2 separate regions of the Homo sapiens genome follow, and region 2 is linked to region 1. The links are contacts of gene promoters, found by promoter capture Hi-C in human tissues and cell types (Jung and others, 2019). All regions are on one chromosome and are shown on one strand. The core of a region is centred on a gene start or on the middle of the fragment in contact, and the rest is flanking DNA. Distances in the headings are between cores, read along the strand shown.

Region 1 (3,952 bases), core at 625-3,124:
CATGTATATTTCCACTATGTGCATAACAATTTTTTGGAGATGAGAGTAGACAGCCAAAACTGTGGGTTTTTTTTTTTTTCTACTAAGAAGTGAAGGGGAAGTGATTCCTCACACAGTTGACTGAATAGGAGGTGAAATAAAGAACTCAGACCTCCAACTCCCACCTTCCCTAAGTTAACCCACTGCTCAACACACAACTTGACCAGCTGACTCACTAAAAAGAAATAGGAGACTCCTTCTTCTAGACTGACTTAGCCTGCCATTTTCCTTTCCAGTCTCTCAGGACCTAATTAAAAACTGACAGTTGATTTCTTTTCCTAAATTAGAACAAGGAATCTCACAAAATTAGGAAGGGATGAAAGGTTAAACACCTCAGCCATTAGCTGAGTTGAACTATCTTTCATTTGCTTATTATTCAAAAAGTTAGGATAATAAATTTATACTGTATTCTTCTTTCCTGCTTAAGGCTTGTCTTTAAATTTAAGCTGCTTCTCTTTAATTCAGTGGCATATGCGCTAAATGTTTTCCCTAGATTATGTTCATTCATCTTCACAACCCAGAAAATAGGTATAATTTTTCATACTTCACAGATGAGAAAACTGATGCTTTACAGAATTACTTGTTAAATTACTTGCTGTACATTACACAGATATTAAATGTGTGTGAAGTTACTGGGGCAATTTAGACGATTCGTGGCATAAAGATAACTGCTGGAAAACTTATAAACATAGGGGTGCAACAATCAGGAAGAGAATGAAATGGAAGGGCCCAGTAGCCCCCTTTTAATATGCTACAATTAGATTCTCAAGGTACAAGAGTTTGTCTATATACTTTGGAAATAAGGAGCAGGATTTTATGATCTTGAAAAATCTTTCAGTTTTCTTATTCTCTAACGACAGATCTATTTTATTTGGCAATGCTAAAAATTATCCTTTATTAGGGTGGCCAATGACTAAGCCAGCAACTGGGAAGCAGCTTACACCACTGGGCCTCTGTAGCACTCACTTCCCCATCTGTTAAGACAGCCATGGCCATTTACCAGTGGAATTTCTACTGTCTTCCCGCTGGCTCCTTTCTGATGTAGCAGTCCTTATCCCTTTTTCTCCAGCAGCCTACATGTTTAGAAAAGCAGCCTCAATTGGCTAAAAGGCCTAATGCTGAAAGAACTCAAGAGAGAAGGAGCCTCAGACAAGTAGCGGCTATGTCCCAAGAGCGGAAGCTCCCCACAACGAGGAACACAAGATAATCCGTCCATCAGCCATTCTTATCCACACCACAGTCGCATCCCCCTCAAAGCTCTCCCAGGGTGCCAGAAATTCTCGCTCTGTCTAGTGTCCCGACTTTCCAAGCGCTTGTAGCCATACCCTCTCCAAATGATGCCACTTGACCTCCCACCGTGATGCAGGCCAAAATTCCTCCTACAAATAAATCCACCAACACCTCCAACGGACTCCATACTTGGGGTATTTTCCTTTCCCTGCTTTCTAAATATCGTAAATCCCCTCTCTGGTCTTGGAAGTCCTTTCTCCCTCACACCTTTCGGAACTCCGTGACTCTCCGCTCTCATGCCTCCGCCTCCATTCTACCCTTAGGGCTCCTCAGCCAGATCTTTGGCTAGAACCATGGTCAAGGGAGAATGCGATTCCGGCTCCTGTCACAGACGCTTAAGTGTGAGCGCAACCCAGCCCGCCTCCTCCTCCACGCCCCTCACACTCACGTGTCGTGGGAAACTGGAGTAGCCAAAGCTCAGAATCCCCAGTGAATACCCTTCTGGGGATGGGAGACGGGGCCAGCTAGGGGCCGGCCGCAGACCCCGGTCCCAGAGCTAGTTTCAGAGGCCAGCGTTCCCCCTAGCGCCTCGCTGTGCCCCACTCTGGGAACCGGAAACAGGAAGCGCCAAGAGGCCGCTGGGCAACCGCTCCTCCCACCAGACCCCGCGGCATGTGACCATAGAACCATTTCGCCCCTTTCCCCTTCCCGGGCTCCCTGATAATCTTAAACTCTGATTGGCCAGTATTCTGGGACTTTAGCTCCGCCCTCGTTCCATCAGCTCCAATCACTATCGAGGTTGTCGTTTCGCCTTTTCTGGTTGCCTTTCTTTCAATGGGGTCCCAGAGTCCCGCTTCCAGGGCCTCTCGGCTCGCGCACCCCGGTCACGCGGGGTCACGCGCCTGACCGCTCCCGGGTAGGGTTCGAGTGAAGAGGGTGAGAGGGGCAGGTGGCGGAAGCGGAAGTTACGCAGGCAGCTCGCCCTCGGGCTCCGCGGGAGTTGTAGTTCTCACGCTAGGTCTCCTCCGGGCGCTTCCCTAGCCCGTTCGCCGCCTGAGAGGGACGCTGTTCCGCCGCGTGGAAGCTTCGAGTCTCGACTCCACTGTTGACCCCTAGACGAGAGTAGTGCAGCGACGGGGCCGTGATGTGCGTCCTGGCTTTCTTAACGACACCTCTCCTCTGTATTTCCTTTTTCCAGTTGAGTACCTTGGGGTGAATTATTATTGTTACTGTTATCTCTGTCGTTCCTTACTGCTTCGTGGTATTTTGCTTGATAAGCATGCTCTGCAACCACCTCTGTTCGCCAGAGGTTACTTCTGCAAAGTAGGAAGAAACGAGCAATACGATGGTAATCTTTGCGCCTTTGCTAAGATCTTTTGTAGGTTCCTTATGTCTTACTAGCCACTTGTTGAAGTCCTGCTCATTCTTAAACTCTGTTCAGATGTTATTTTTCCTGTAACTTCGTGCATTCACTCTCTTCAGAATTAACAATTTCTTCCTGTGGACCCTCGCTTGTGGCTTGTACCTGGCTTTAGCATGTTTTCATTCCGCTTCCACTCTTACGTTGCTTCTATGTGTGCCTCTCTGGCTCTATGCAGGTGCCTGGATTTTTGATTCTTACCCCTCTCATTAGAACTACTACAGTGTTTTGAGTCTAATAATAATAAAAGCTAACGGATGCATATCTCGGTGGTGCCCGGCACTTTTGTAAGTGCTTTAAACGATAGTTAATTCACTTGGTCTTCACACCAACCTTATGAGGAAGTATCTTATCCCAAGTTTACAGATGAGTAAATTAAAGCAGATAGAAGCTAAGTAACACCGTGGGTCCCAAGCTATTAAGTTATGGAGCCAGTATTTAAATAGTCTCCATAATCCATGCTCTCAAGCACTACGCTTTACCGACTGTATGCCATTCTGCATTTCTTTGTTTATTAGTAATACATTCAGTTCAGGCTAGGTAGTAATCATATCTGGGTTGGATGTTGCCCCAATAAAAAAAAAAATTAAATTTTTTTCTTCCTGAAAATGAAAGTAATTTGTGATCAGATAACACAGAAAACAACAAAACAAAAATCATACATAAACTCACCAGGAGGGTGTGTATTTCCTTCATGAATATATGTTGTTTCCTTTTTTCAAAAATGTATCAGTCCCACACTGTGGCTCATGCCCGTAATCCCAGCACTTTGGGATTCCGGGGCAGAAGGATCACTTGAGGTCAGGAATTCAAGACTAGCCTGGGCAACATAGTGAGACCCCTTCTTTCAAAAAAAAAAATCAGCTGGGCTTGGTGGTGCACACCTGTAGTCCCAGCTGCTTGGGAGCCTGAGGCTGGAAGATTGCTTGAGCCTGGGAGTTGGAGGCTGCAGTGAGCTATGGTCTTGCCACTACCCTCCAGCCTTGGTGATAGAGTGAGAACCTATCTCAAAAAGATATGTATGTATCAAATATTTTTCCATATCCTTGACTTTACAAATAAACTTTTTAATAGCATAATATTTAGTTCTATGCATTGCTACTTAACCAATGACATTAATGTTGAGCATTTAAGTTATTTCTACTGACTTATTTTTTATCAAGTAACTCAACACAGCTTTACTGAGCAATTACTATGTGCCAAAACCACAGAATATATAATATAGATCTTGGGGATACAGCAGAGAAAAAAGACAAAAATCCC
Region 2 (3,659 bases), core at 959-3,458, 310 kb after region 1:
TCTACAGCACGGAGGGCACAAAGGGAGAGGGGGGTGGCTCTCACCTTCAGGCGGGTGTTTGAGGCTGGCAGGCTCTGAGCTGAGGAGAATCTCAAATTTACCTGTAAAGAGGATATGATTAAAGCAGCCATTTTATAATTATTACAGTAACCGGCCCTTCTTCTACTCCAGGCTAAGAGTAGCCTTTTCTATACTTCCTTTCTCTTTATTCATCTTACAGCAGGATTAAGAGATGAACAGCCTAGGAACTACCAATTCAGTGTCTCTGGAACAACCTGGAAATTTGATTCCAGTTAACTCAGGTTTTCCATTCCTTATATAAATGATGAAATATAAATTGACTTAATCATATAGAAATAAAATGCTGCATAGAATTGAAAACACACGTACAAGAAAGATGCATACCTTGCTATCACTGACCTATCTCTGTGCAGTGTTTATGTGAAGACTGTGTGCAGTTTGCACGGTGATGTGAAAATCACATTCCACCCCTGAGACCAGCCAACAGAAGTCTCCTCCAGTTGGCAGTCTCAGTCACCTGAAATTCTAAAGCAGTGTGGAACTGTTCATCATGATTGGAGATTTACTGGTCCATTTAAAAAAAATAAATATCTAATATACAGCCTAAGAGTTCATTGGTTCAGACAATTTAAAAAATGGTGAATAAAGAACAACAGGAAATTGTGCAGAATCTTCCCAAAGATTTGCTTCTACTTTGGCCAAAAAAATTAATTGGCAAGATAATCTATTAGTTCCTTCTGTTGATACCGACATTTCTTGAGTAGTATCTGAGTTATATAGTAGTAGCATCAGGTAACTTCCTTGATTCTTGGACTGAAAACTGATTTTTATTGGAATGAAATATCAGTATGTTTAGCTAAATAACATCTGACTTAGGTTGCTAAATTTCACTATGACAATCCAGCTTTATGGTCTACTGAATTTAATATAGCAGTTTGGAATCACTTATCATAAGACATATATGAAAAAAATCAATAATTATTTATCTTCAAGATGCAATAGTATTCATCTTTCTAACTCAATATACTATGAAAACATTGCTTATGGAGAATCTCTTTAAAATATATTTGCTTTTATTTTTAGAAAATTTAAGTTCATTAAAATATGTTAGTTACTGTCCATGTCAAAAGAACAGGTAATTTGGGATTATAATAAACTAAAAACACTATTAGCAAGAAGTGGACATGTTAGAAAATAGAAAATGTTTTACTGATATGAAAACCAAAACATAACTTTAAGGCATATTTCAAAGGAGTCTGTACCTCATATATTATATTAATTACTACCAATGTTATTCTTAATGAATAATTATATCTGGTTGAGTATAACAAATGATTCCAACTATTACATAATTTTTAATGTGTATGCCAAATCTGTTGTAAGTGAAGAAATAAGTATATGAAGTTTGAATAGAAAACTATTTTTCTCTGTCTCAGCAAAGATTGAAAAAAATTTAAATGTATCGTTTTGCAGGGATGCATGTCTGACTTGGGGTCTTTCCTCACATCCTCAGTGCACTATTTATTTGCTCATCATCCCACCAAGATGTCTAACTTTTAGGGTGCTTAATTTGTAATTTTAATAGATCTACTGTTTTTCTAATTTTTGTGGTAGTCAACTTTCTTCTGAATCTTCTTATGAATCTTTGTTCATATTATTTTTTACAGCTGATCTTCAATTCTGATCAATGATGATTTTAAAGGTATTTAACGTGAAGTGATTGAATATAATGTCCGTGGGCTTTTACTTCTATGGTGAAGTTTTATACTGTTGCACAGGGACTGTCATATGTTTTGCAAAATCAGAATTGTTTTTCAGACTGGATTCCAGGGAGAAAATTACTTTTCTGCCAATTCTGTTTTATAATGCTTCTCTCATTTCTAGGGTGTGAAGAGGATACTGACCCACCAGAAAGAGACCCCACTGCTAGAACGAATAAGATGTGCTGAAAGCCGGAGCATAACTTGGCCATTCCCAAGATTTAACAACAAACTAACTACCCATCATTAACAGTAAAGGTATTGAAGCATGAAGGAGTCTCTTCTCAGTGGGTATGAAACACACAGAAGTCCAAACAGAACAGACACTAAGCTTCTTGGACACACCATCCAGGTTTAATAGCACTCTTTAGTAAGGTGGAATTAAAGGTTTACATCAGAATACACTGTGTATTTTTCTTATTTCACTGTATATTTAAAACAAGACAACCTAAATATAGATCTCAGGGCAGAAATGTTCACTTGCTATAAACACATTTTGTTTTAATCTCCACAAAGCCCATGTTAAAAAAAAAATCCTTCCAGGTGTATTTGAAAACAGGCATCTGAAGTAGGCGGCTCTTATCTGATCGCTAATGTTATGATTATGCTGCTAGAGTAGTGAAAATCAGATAAACAGCACCAAGTTCTGTTGGAATAAAGCATACTTATATCTCAGTGAGCTTCACATGGCAGCTTTGTATTCCTTAAATAAAAAATATGCCATCTGAACCTATGTTAAATTTTTGTGCTATCATTATTTTTAAAGTGTCCAGGCTGTTTCTCATCTGTTCTGTATTATTAAGCTGAGTTTAAACTCATGACAACCTACTGCTGTCTGTAGTGGTACATGGAAGTGTGCCAGTGTATGATGGGGTAAAATTGGCACAGCCTTGTGAGGCATCATTTTTAATCAAAATATTAGTAACAAAACATTTTAAAATTAAAACTATTAAAGGCTTATAGGTGACTTGATTTTGAAATTCATATGAATTTTATAACAAAACAAGAGACTTTTAAAAAACTGTGTTTGTGGTTGCCTGTTTTGGATGTCAGCACTAGACCTCTCAGTATGACATCACCCCCTGCCTTTAGAAGTAGCTGGGAGGAATGTTTTAGGAGCACTGTATGCCTAATTTCCTAATTTCCTTCTTTTCCACACATCACAATGGGAGAAGAATAAAAGGACTAGTCTTAAACAAAACAACCCACCTTGTTGGCAAAACAGTTTTCAATCTCAAGCTTGTCAGTGTCTGCAACAATTTCTCCATTAGGTAAAACAGTGTAAACAAGCAGATGAGCACTAGGAGCAGAGTCTGATTCCACTCGAAAGGAGAAGGAAAACACCCCTTTCACTGGAGAATTTAAAAAGAAGAACAAGTTCAGAATAACACATTAGCAACAGAATTATCAATTTGATTTTTTAAAAAGGCATTTCCAACTATAGACTTTATTTACATTTGGATCACACTGAAGTAAGAAAAGACTTTATACCACTGTGCAGGTAGTAGTGTTCAATAAATATATGCTGAGCTAATGACATTTTCCCTTAAAGATATAGGTTTAATTGTTCATTTCCTCTGTTTAAGTAGGAAAAAGACATTTAATGCTTGTCTCTATTTCTAAATTGAAAAATATTATTGAGAAAGGAGTCAAGAGAGAAGAAAGAGAACTTCTAGACATGTTTGGTTATAATTCTTGTGTGTGTAAGGGCAATATAAACAATGCAACAGTCTTTTCCTTCAGGCCATTTATAATACAGCAGGGATACAGATACAAATCACATAAAAAGCCTTGTGAGCCTTTGATTTTTATAATAGAATTCTGTGTGTTCATCTCAGTGGTTGTCCTCTGTGTGAACTACATAGAGCTTATGTAACA

What was found. The method cuts DNA at HindIII sites, captures the fragments that hold promoters and counts their contacts. A contact is called where the count stands out against the background at its distance.
Region 2: a contact is called between a fragment that was not itself captured here and the fragment with the promoter of M6PR in region 1, in 1 of the 25 tissues and cell types used here (lymphoblastoid cells).

What each region holds. Positions count from the first base shown.
Region 1 is chr12:8,947,771-8,951,722 of GRCh38, forward strand. It overlaps M6PR (mannose-6-phosphate receptor, cation dependent), which reads right to left and starts at 1,875. Exons shown (of 7, transcript NM_002355.4): 1 at 1,718-1,875. It also overlaps a transcript of KLRG1 not described here. RefSeq lists enhancers at 1,139-2,044, 2,045-2,949, 2,448-2,577 and a silencer at 2,255-2,469. The HindIII fragment of the contact is 13,158 bases long and covers 1-3,952 here.
Region 2 is chr12:9,253,654-9,257,312 of GRCh38, forward strand. LINC00987 (long intergenic non-protein coding RNA 987) reads left to right here. Exons shown (of 7, transcript NR_137434.2): 5 at 1,906-2,039. It also overlaps the pseudogene A2MP1. Among named protein-coding and RNA genes, the nearest start is that of LINC00987, 15 kb to the left of the region's middle. The HindIII fragment of the contact is 4,482 bases long and covers 1-3,659 here.